Linked DNA regions of Homo sapiens: region 1 is linked to region 2. The links are contacts of gene promoters, found by promoter capture Hi-C in human tissues and cell types (Jung and others, 2019). All regions are on one chromosome and are shown on one strand. The core of a region is centred on a gene start or on the middle of the fragment in contact, and the rest is flanking DNA. Distances in the headings are between cores, read along the strand shown. Region 1 overlaps NLRP5 (NLR family pyrin domain containing 5). Region 2 holds the start of NLRP8 (NLR family pyrin domain containing 8).

What was found. Contacts are between HindIII fragments. The study calls those that stand out against the background at their distance.
Region 1: a contact is called between a fragment that was not itself captured here and the fragment with the promoter of NLRP8 in region 2, in 4 of the 25 tissues and cell types used here (pancreas, psoas muscle, spleen and 1 more).

Annotation. Positions count from the first base shown.
Region 1 is chr19:56,015,236-56,020,284 of GRCh38, forward strand. It overlaps NLRP5 (NLR family pyrin domain containing 5), which reads left to right. Exons shown (of 15, transcript NM_001433705.1): 4 at 507-563; 5 at 4,107-4,163. Among named protein-coding and RNA genes, the nearest start is that of NLRP5, 31 kb to the left of the region's middle. The HindIII fragment of the contact is 3,128 bases long and covers 1,888-5,015 here.
Region 2 is chr19:55,945,198-55,949,888 of GRCh38, forward strand. It overlaps NLRP8 (NLR family pyrin domain containing 8), which reads left to right and starts at 2,635. Exons shown (of 10, transcript NM_001433706.1): 1 at 2,635-3,072. The coding sequence starts at 2,706. The HindIII fragment of the contact is 14,722 bases long and covers 1-4,691 here.

The DNA.
Region 1 (5,049 bases), core at 2,202-4,701, 71 kb after region 2:
TGTTGCCCAGGCTGGAGTGGTGTGATGTCGGCTCACTGAAACCTCTGCCTCCTGGGTTCAGGCAATTCTCCTGCCTCAGCCTTCCAGTAGATGGGATTACAGGCACACGCCACCATGCCTGGCTAATTTTTTGAATTTTTAGTAGAGACGGGGTTTCACCATGTTGGCCAGGCTGGTCTTAAACCCCTGACCTCAAAAGATTCGCCTGCCTCGGCCTCCCAAAGTGCTGGTATTAGAGGAGTGAGCCACTGTGCCTGGCATTGTTCATTTTATTTTGTTTACTGCCAGTGTATAGAAATACTTTTGATTTTGAATCGTCGGATCTTGAATCTAGTACTTATGTTACTGGCGCACACTGCCCTGGCGCTGAGCCAGTGGTTCTGTGCTCTAAACTGGTCAGAAAATTAACTATGGCATGACTAAGTTTATCTGGGGTGTCCAACATCTCTGATTTGAATAATATACACAGTATGTTTGTGTTTATTCTTCTCCCTTCTCTTTTGCAGGAATTTCACAAGCTGTGCAACAAGATAGTGCCACAGCTGCAGAGACAAAAGAACAAGGTGAATGAAATAGATCTATTCATTTGTTGCCCTCCTGGAAGAAAGTTGGGTGAGAGAAGTTCATGTAGTTCAAAGGACGGGGAAATCCACTTTCCCTTTCTTCATCCTCATTTGTCTCTGGTGTGTGAGTCCCTCTTCCCTAAGAGATCTTGGGATCAGCACCATGGACAGAACCTTGCACGTTCACTACGATTATTTTCACTACAGTTTTTTATTTTTAACTGAAAAATAAGAATTGTATATACTTATGGGGCGTGAGGTTTCAATACACGCATATATTGTAGAATGATCAAATCAGGGTAACTAGTGTATCCATCACCTCAAATATTCTTTGTGCTGAGAACATTTTATTTTTACTTATTTATTTATTTTGAGATGGAGTTCTTTTCTTGTGGCCCAGGCTGGAGTGCAGTGGTGTGATCTCAGCTCACTGCCAGCTCCGCCTCCCGGGTTCAAGCGATTATTCTGCCTCAGCCTCTCAAGTAGCTGGGGCTACAGGCATGCACCACCACGCCCAGCTAATTTTGTATTTTTAGTAGAGACAGGGTTTCTGCATGTTGGTCAGGCTGGTCTGGAACTCCCGACCTCAGGTGATCCACCCACCTCAGCCTCCCAAAGTGCTGGGATTACAAGCTTGAGCCACCACACCCAGCTGTGCTGAGAACATTTAAAATCCTCTTTTAGCTATTTTGAAATAGACTTTGTTATTAACCAGTCACCACGTTGTGCAATAGAATACCAGAACTTACTCCTCTTGTCTAGCTGTAAGTTTGTACCTGTTGACTAATGTTTTCCAACTTTCCCGGTCCACTCTCTGCCCCACCAGCCTCTGGTAACCACTGTTCTACCCTCCAATTCTGAGTTCGACATTTTTAGATTCCACGTGTCAGATCCTCTGGTATTTCTCTGTGCCTGGCTTACTTCACTTAACATAATGTCCTCTAGGTTCCTCAATGTTGTAGCAAATGACAGAATTTCCTGTATGTTTTAGAGCTGAATAACCCATTGTGTATATACACCACATTTTTTTAAGGGAGTCTTGCTCTGTTGCCCAGGCTGGGGTGCAGTGGCGCGATCTCAGCTCACTGCAAGCTCCGCCTCCTGGGTTCAAGTGATTCTCCTGCCTCAGCCTCCCAAGTAGCTGGGATTACAGGCATGCGCCACCATGCCCAGCTAATTTTTGTATTTTTAGTGCAGATGGGGTTTCACCGTGTTAGGCAGGATGGTCTCAGTCTCTTGACCTCGTGATCCGCCCGCCTCGGCCTCCCAAAGTGCTGGGATTACAGACGTGAGCCACCGCGCCCGGCCAAAATCCTTTTCATTTCTTTAAGGCTGTTAGTTGTGACCCTCTTTCATTCCCGACTCCAGTAATTTTAGCTGTCTCTTTTTTTCCTTGGTCAGTCTGGCTAAAGGTCTGTCAATTTTGTTCTTTTCAAAGAACAAACTGGTAGGTTTGTTTTCTCTATGGTATTTCCATCTTGTATTTTGTTTATTTCTTTATTCCCTTTCTCTGCCTGTTTTGGGGTGAGTTTGCTACTCACTAACCCCAAAAGGGGGTTCTTTCCTACTTTAAGGTGGGAAGTTATATTATATTTCAGATCTTTCTTAGGCATTTATGGCTATAAATTTTCCTTTATGCACGGCTCTACCTACACGCTGTAAATATTGCTGTGTTTTGTTTCCACTCATTTCAAAGTATTTAATTCCCTTTTGTTTCCCCTTTGACCTGTTGAGGATCGTGTGGCTTCACTTCCATATATTTGGAAATTTTCAAATTTTCTGACTGATTTCTAATCTTATTTCATTGTGTTAAGAGAGCATACTTTGTATAATTTCAAGGAACATAAACTTGAAGCATGTTTTATGCCTGATGTATCTATCTTGAAGAAGGTCTGTTTGCAGTTGAGAAGGGCATGTTTTCTGCTGTTGGGTGGAGCGTTGGTTTGATATCTGCCTTCACTGTTTTCCATATCGGTAAATAGCGTCACTATGTGCCTGGTCGTTTACACCAAAAGCTTAGTCGTTTTTTGCTCGTTTGTTTGTCTCACTCTGTCTCCCAGGATGGAGTGCGGTCGCGCAATCTTGGCTCACTGCAACCTCCACGTCCCAGGTTTAAGCAGTTCTTGTGCCTTGACTTCCTTAGTAGCTGTATTTTTTAATATTTATTTTCTCCACCATATATCTAGCAAATCAGAAGATCATATGGTCTCTACCCGTAATATATGACCCATTTTTACACAGTTCTTCCCATCTTCTGTATTTCTGTGGTGTATATACACAATGGGTTATTGAAGGCATTTCATTTGCGTCCCAAACGCAATCCACTTTTACATACAATCAATTTTTCATACAATAACCAAGGCGATCTAAAAATTTACGCCTGTAACTTGATTCCCATGCTTAAAAATCCTTAAGTGGTTTTTATTCTGTTTGTGATTTTAAAAAATCTATAATTTTTCTCTAATTGACAAGACAAAGACCACCCTAATGATTGTTCTTTAAAATGGCAAATCTATTCTCATATATCCTAAGACGAATTTGTATTTAGCCTCACATGGTAACTATTTCCTGATAAATATATATAGTGGTTATTCTCAGTCAGTGGTAGCTACTATATGCCAGAGGCTGTGTTATTACTCTACCAAATCATCTCCACAGCAACTCGACAACATAAGAACAATTTCTTTGCTTTTCTAGATGAGCATACAGAAACATTTAACTTCAGTAACTTGATGAAGATCTTACAAATAGTTTATGACAACTCACATTTGAATCCTGTGTCTAATTCAAATCCAATTCTTTTTTTAAGAGAGAGAGTTTTGCTGTATTGCTGAGACTACAATGCAGTGGCTATCCACAAGCATGACCGTAGCTCACTACAGCCTCAAACTGCTGGACTCAAGTGATTCTCCTGCCTCAGCCTCCCAAGTAGCTGGGACTACAGGCATGTACCACAAAATCTGGCTCTAAGATCCTAAGATCCTTAATTCTTAACTGTAGGTTTTGCCCCTCATTTAATTTTTGTATTCTTATTATTATTTTTGGAGTGCAGTGGCATGATCTCAGCTTACTGCAACCTCTGCCTCCAAAGTTCAAGTTACTCTCCTGCTTCAGCCTCCTGAGTAGCTGGGATTACAGGCACGTGCCACCATCCCTGGCTAACTTTTTGTATTTTTTAGTAGAGATGGGGTTTCATCATATTGGTCAGGCTGGCCTCGAACCCCTGACCTCTGGTGATCTGCCCGCCTCGGCCTCCCAAAGTGCTGGGATTACAGGTGCGAACGACCACGCCCAACCTACCCTTCATTTTAATAACTTGTGCAAGGCTCTTCAAGGAGAAATGAGCCTGGGACCCTCACCCTCAAGCTTTGAATTAGTGCTCATTGTACCAGTGCACTCTGTCTTCTAGCTGAGACAGTGGTTGCCATGTTTTCAACTGGCCAGAAAATAAATATGGCATGACTAAGCTTATCTTGGGGGTGTCTGACATCTCTGACTCAAATAATAAACACAAGTATGTTGGAATTCATTCTTCTTTTGCAGAAATTTCACAAGCTATGGAACAAGAAGGTGCCACAGCAGCAGAGACAGAAGAACAAGGTGAGGAAAATAGATGTATTCCTTGGTTGCCCTCCTGGAAGAAAGTTGGGTGAAAGAAGTGTAAGTAGTTTAGATTTCAAGGGTATGTAGTTTAGATTGCCTTTCTTCATTCTCATTTGTCTCTGGTGTCAACCCCTTCCCTTCAAGCTCTTGATCAGTACCATGGATAGAGCTACGCAAGTTCACTGTGATTATCTACAGTCAGATACTATGAAGACAAAATTCTAAAGAACCCATAATTCTAGGGGACTCGAATCAATCACAACTTTGTTTGATGGATGTTAAACATATGGCCAAGAGTAGTCAAATGCTGTCTTCAAACTTAAGTGGCAGTAATTATTTTTGTAATTCCTTCTATCAACTAATATGTACATGAATACCTGCCATTGAAGAATTGTGCTGGAATTACAGTGGTAAGAAAAACATGTCTTGCCTTCATGGCATTTTTTTTTTTTTGAGAAGGAGTCTCGCTGTGTCGCCCAAGCTGTAGTGCAGTGGCGGGATCTCAGCTCAGTGCAACCTCTGCCTCCCAGGTTCAAGCGATTCTTCTGTCTCAGCCTCCCGAGTAGCTGGGATTACAGGCACCTGCCACTGTGCCCGACTAATTTTTGTATTTTTAGTAGAGATGGGGTTTCACCATATTGGCCAAGCTGGTCTCGAACTCGTGACCTCGGCTGCCCACCTCGGCCTCCCAAAGTGCTGGGATTACAGGCATGAGCCACCACGCCCGACCTACCCCTCATTTTAATAACTTGTGCAAGTCTCTTCAAGGAGAAATGAGCCTAGGACCCTCACCCTCAAGCTTTGAATTAGTGCTCATTGTACCAGTGCACTCTGTCTTCTAGTTGAGCCGGTGGTTGTCATGTTTTCAACTGGCCAGAAAATA
Region 2 (4,691 bases), core at 1,385-3,884:
AGGTGCATGCCACCACGCCCAGCCAATATTTGTTTTTTTTTTTTTTTTTTTTAAGTAGAGACGGGTTTTCACCATGTTGGCCAGGATGGTCTCAATCTCTTGACCTCGTGATCCTCCCACCTCAGCCTCCCAAAGTGCTGAAATTACAGGCATGAGCCACCACACCTGGCCTCAGGTTGCAGTTTTAGGAGTAGAACTACTGAATTCCATGGCAGTGCACACGATTGGTAGTATTGTGAAAAGGCCTTTCAGATAGGTTCCCCCTGCTTATGTTCCCTTCAGCAGTGAATGAAAGTAAAGCAAAACGATGATGTAACTGCCAACATCCTCCCTTGCCCTGCAAATTTCTTTTCTTTTCCTTTCTTTCTTTCTTTTCTTTTTTTTTTTTTTTTTTTTTTTTTTGAGACAGGGTCTTGCTCTATCACCCTGGCTGGAGTGCAGTGGCATGATATCCACTCATTGCAACCTCTGCCTCCTGGGTTCAAGCAATTCTCCTGCCTCAGCCTCCCGAGTAGCTGGGATTACAGGCACCCACCACCACGCCCAGCTACTTTTTGTGTTTTTAATAGAGGCAGGGTTTCACCATGTTGGCCAGGCTGGTCTGGAACTCCTGGCCTGAAGTGATCCACCTGTCTTGGCCTCCCAAAGTGCTGGGATTACAGGCGTGAGCCACCGCACCCAGCCAGTCCTGCAAATTTCTTAAAGCTGCAGCTCACTGTGGCTGGAACGTGGTCAGCAATGGTCATGGAATAAGTAGAGGTAGAAAATGTGTGACTGTGTTAGGCTCCTCCATGCAGCGCCACCCACTGGACGGAAGGAGCACTAGCAAGAGTCAGCCACCCAGGAGCATATCACCTTTGTCCTGGGACCAAGCCCAGCTACTCTGGACCCAAGGGAGGACTGAGTCAATTAAACAAGTTTATCCAGATGTTTGGGTGTCACATAAGTTATAAGAGGGAGAAGTGTTAAAGAAGAAGCTATTGGCCAGGTGCAGTGGCTCACACCTGTAATCCCAGCACTTTGGGAGGCTGAGGTGGGTGGATCACTTGAGGTCAGGAGTTTGAGACCAGCCTGGCCAACATAGTGAAACCCCATCTATACTAAAAATACAAAAAAATTAGCCAGGCATGGTGGCAGGTGCCTGTAATCCCAGCTACTCAGGGGGCTGAGGCAAGGGAATTGCTTGAACCAGGGAAGTGGAGGTTGCAGTGAGCCGAGATCACACCACTGCACTCCAGCCTGGGAAACAGAGTGAGACTCTGTCTCTAAGTAAATAAATAAATAATAAATAAATAAACTATTATTGGAAGTTGGGGCAGGGGGGACAAAAATACACCCATGATCCTTTTTATTTTATTTCTTTTTTACATTTCTTTTAGATACAGGGGTACATGTGCAGGTTTGTTATATAGGCAAACGTGTTATGGGGGTGGGTTTGTTGTACAGGTTATCTCATCACCCAGGTATTAATCCCAGTACCCATTAGTTATTTTTCCTGATCTTCTCCCTCCTCCCACCCTCCAGCCTCTAGCAGACTCCAGTGTGTGGTGTTCCCTCTATGTGTCCATGTGTTCTCATCGTTTAGCTACCACTTATAAATGAGCACATGTGGTATTTGGTTTCCTGTTCCTGTGTTAGTTTGCTAAGGAATAATGGTCTCTGGCTCCATCTATGTTCCTGCAAAGGTCATGATCTCATTCTTTTTTATGGCTGCATAGTATTCCATGGTGTTTATGTACCACATTTTTTTATCCGGTCTATCACTGATGGGCATTTAGGTTGATTCCATGACTTTGCTATTGTGAGTAGTGCTGCAATGAACATACACAGGAATGTGTCTTTATAATAGAATGATTTATATTCCTTTGGATATATATCCAGTAATGGGATTGCTGAGTTGAATGGTAGTTCTCTTTTTAGGTCTTTGAGGAGTTGCCCCACTGTCATCCAGAGTAGTTGAACTAATTTACACTCCCACACACAGAGTATAAGTGTTCCTTTTTCTCTGCGACTTCACCAGCATCTGTTATTGCTTGACTTTTTAATAATCACCATTCTGACTGGTGTGAGATGACATCTCGTTGTGGTTTTGATTTGCATCTCTCTAATACATGATCCATTTTTTAAGAATACAGCATCTGTTATTGCTTGACTTTTTAATAATCACCATTCTGACTGGTGTGAGATGACATCTCGTTGTGGTTTTGATTTGCATCTCTCTAATACATGATCCATTTTTTTAAGAATAAAAACTTTGTTGAATTTGAGATCACTTTTAATCTAATGGAGCCTTCTAACCAACCATATATTTTCTAGATTTTAGCTTCACTGAATTATTTTACCTGCTTCTAATTTTTCTTTTCGCTAAACCTTTTGTGAAGGCTTTGATATTTTGCTTGCCTCTTCCCCAAAAGAAGTCATGGAGAATAGAAACTACAAACAATCCATTAGTCTAATGGACTAATCCCAAACATTCCATGCATCTTCAGTTTTTCCATAGGGCAGAGAATCTTTGAGGAAAGGAGGTAAAGGGAGTACCCGGCACGCAGAATACCTGCCAAGTAAGCATTACACGAATCTGTTTTCTTGGGTAGTGTTTTCATCTTCTTGTTTTATTGTTTTATGTCTCTGCAGGTCTCGTGTTTCTCTCTTCCAATCGGTTGTCTTTATCGTGGACACTGAGGTGTTCTCTGCCTTGACTAAAGATGAGTGACGTGAATCCACCCTCTGACACCCCCATTCCCTTTTCATCCTCCTCCACTCACAGTTCTCATATTCCGCCCTGGACATTCTCTTGCTACCCCGGCTCCCCATGTGAAAATGGGGTCATGCTGTACATGAGAAACGTGAGCCATGAGGAGCTACAACGGTTCAAGCAGCTCTTACTGACTGAGCTCAGTACTGGCACCATGCCCATCACCTGGGACCAGGTCGAGACAGCCAGCTGGGCAGAGGTGGTTCATCTCTTGATAGAGCGTTTCCCTGGACGACGCGCTTGGGATGTGACTTCGAACATCTTTGCCATTATGAACTGTGATAAAATGTGTGTTGTAGTCCGCAGAGAGATAAATGGTGAGTGTTGATCTGGTGGATAAAGTGGGGGTGGGCTTGGCTGCTGGGCAGCTAAACTACTCTAGTCACCACCCCTATCACTTATTGGCCTTCTGAGCAAGAAAGCAAACAGTGGAGGAAGATAATGGATCTAACCCAAAGGCAAAGACTGTCATACGGGCATTTTTTTAATTTTATTTTTCTGAGATGGGGTTTCGCTCTTCTTGCCCAGGCTGAAGTGCAATGGCACAATCTCGGCTCACTGCAAACCCCGCCTCCCAGGTACAGGTGATTCTCCTGCCTCAGCCTCCTGAGTAGCTGGGATTACAGGCACCCACCACCATGCCTGGGTAATTTTTTTTTATTTTTAGTAGAGACGGGGTTTCACCATGTTGGCCAGGCTGGTCTCGAACTACTGACCTCAGGTAATCCGCCTGCCTTGGCCCCCCAAAGTGCTGGGATTGCAGGTGTGAGCCACTGTGCCCAGCCCATATGGGCCTATTTTTTAAAAACTTAACTGAATACTGCTTATATGAGGTGAACGTTAAATGAAGTCATAGAGAAGTAGGAAGTAAAATAGTGGAAAAGCATATGCTATGGAAACAGCAGAAGACAGCTGGTATAGCTATGGTGATGTCAGGAGTGCTATATTTAAAGCAAGAAGGTTAAACACTTTAAAAGGCCATTTCGCAGCAACAAAGGGTGAATCCCACTGGAGGATATTGTAATCCAAAACCTCATCTTCAATATGAATAAAGCAGAGCTGGACTACAGTCATCCCCTTATCCAAGGTTTTGCTTTCTGAAGTTTGGGTTGATCATGGCCAAAAATAGATGAGTACAGTACACTGAGATATTCTGAGACAGAGAGAGACCACATTTACATACCGTTTATGATAGTATAGTATTATAATTGTTCTATTTCATTATTATTGTTAATCTCTTACTGTACCTAATTTATAATTTAAACTTTTATCATAGATCGGTATGTATTTTTTTTCTATTTTGAGATGGAGTCTTCATTCTGTCACACAGGCTGGAGTGCAGTGGTGTGATCTCAGCTCACTGCAACCTCCACCTCCCAGGTTCAAGCAATTCTCATGCCTCAGCCTCCCCAGTAGCTGGGATTACAGGTGCGCACCACCACACCCAGCTAATTTTTGTATTTTTAGTAGAAACGGGGTTTCACCATGTTGGCCAGGCTGGTTTCAAACTCCTGACCTTAGGTGATTTGCCTGCCTCGGCCTCCCAAAGTGCTGGAATTACAGGTGTGAGCCACCACACCCGGCCTAGATATGTATTTAAAAAAATCAGTATCCACATTGTTCAGTACTATCCACAGTTTCAGATATCCACCGGGGATCTTGGAACATAGACCCTGCAGAGAAGGGGGGACTACTGTATTAAAGGAAAATACACCAATCCAGAAACATGATAGGAGCTGTGAACCCGCCTCTCCCAATAGCTGATATTACAAGTAGTCAGTCTCATTGGTAAGAATGGAGAAAACGTCAGCTCCACAGTTTTAAACATAAACACAGGAGAGTGGGTGCCTTACGTCTCCTTAGCCACTGGCACCCCAACAGCTGGCTCAGCACCTAGCATGTCATAGGTGCTCAAATATTAGATGGCTAGAGAGTA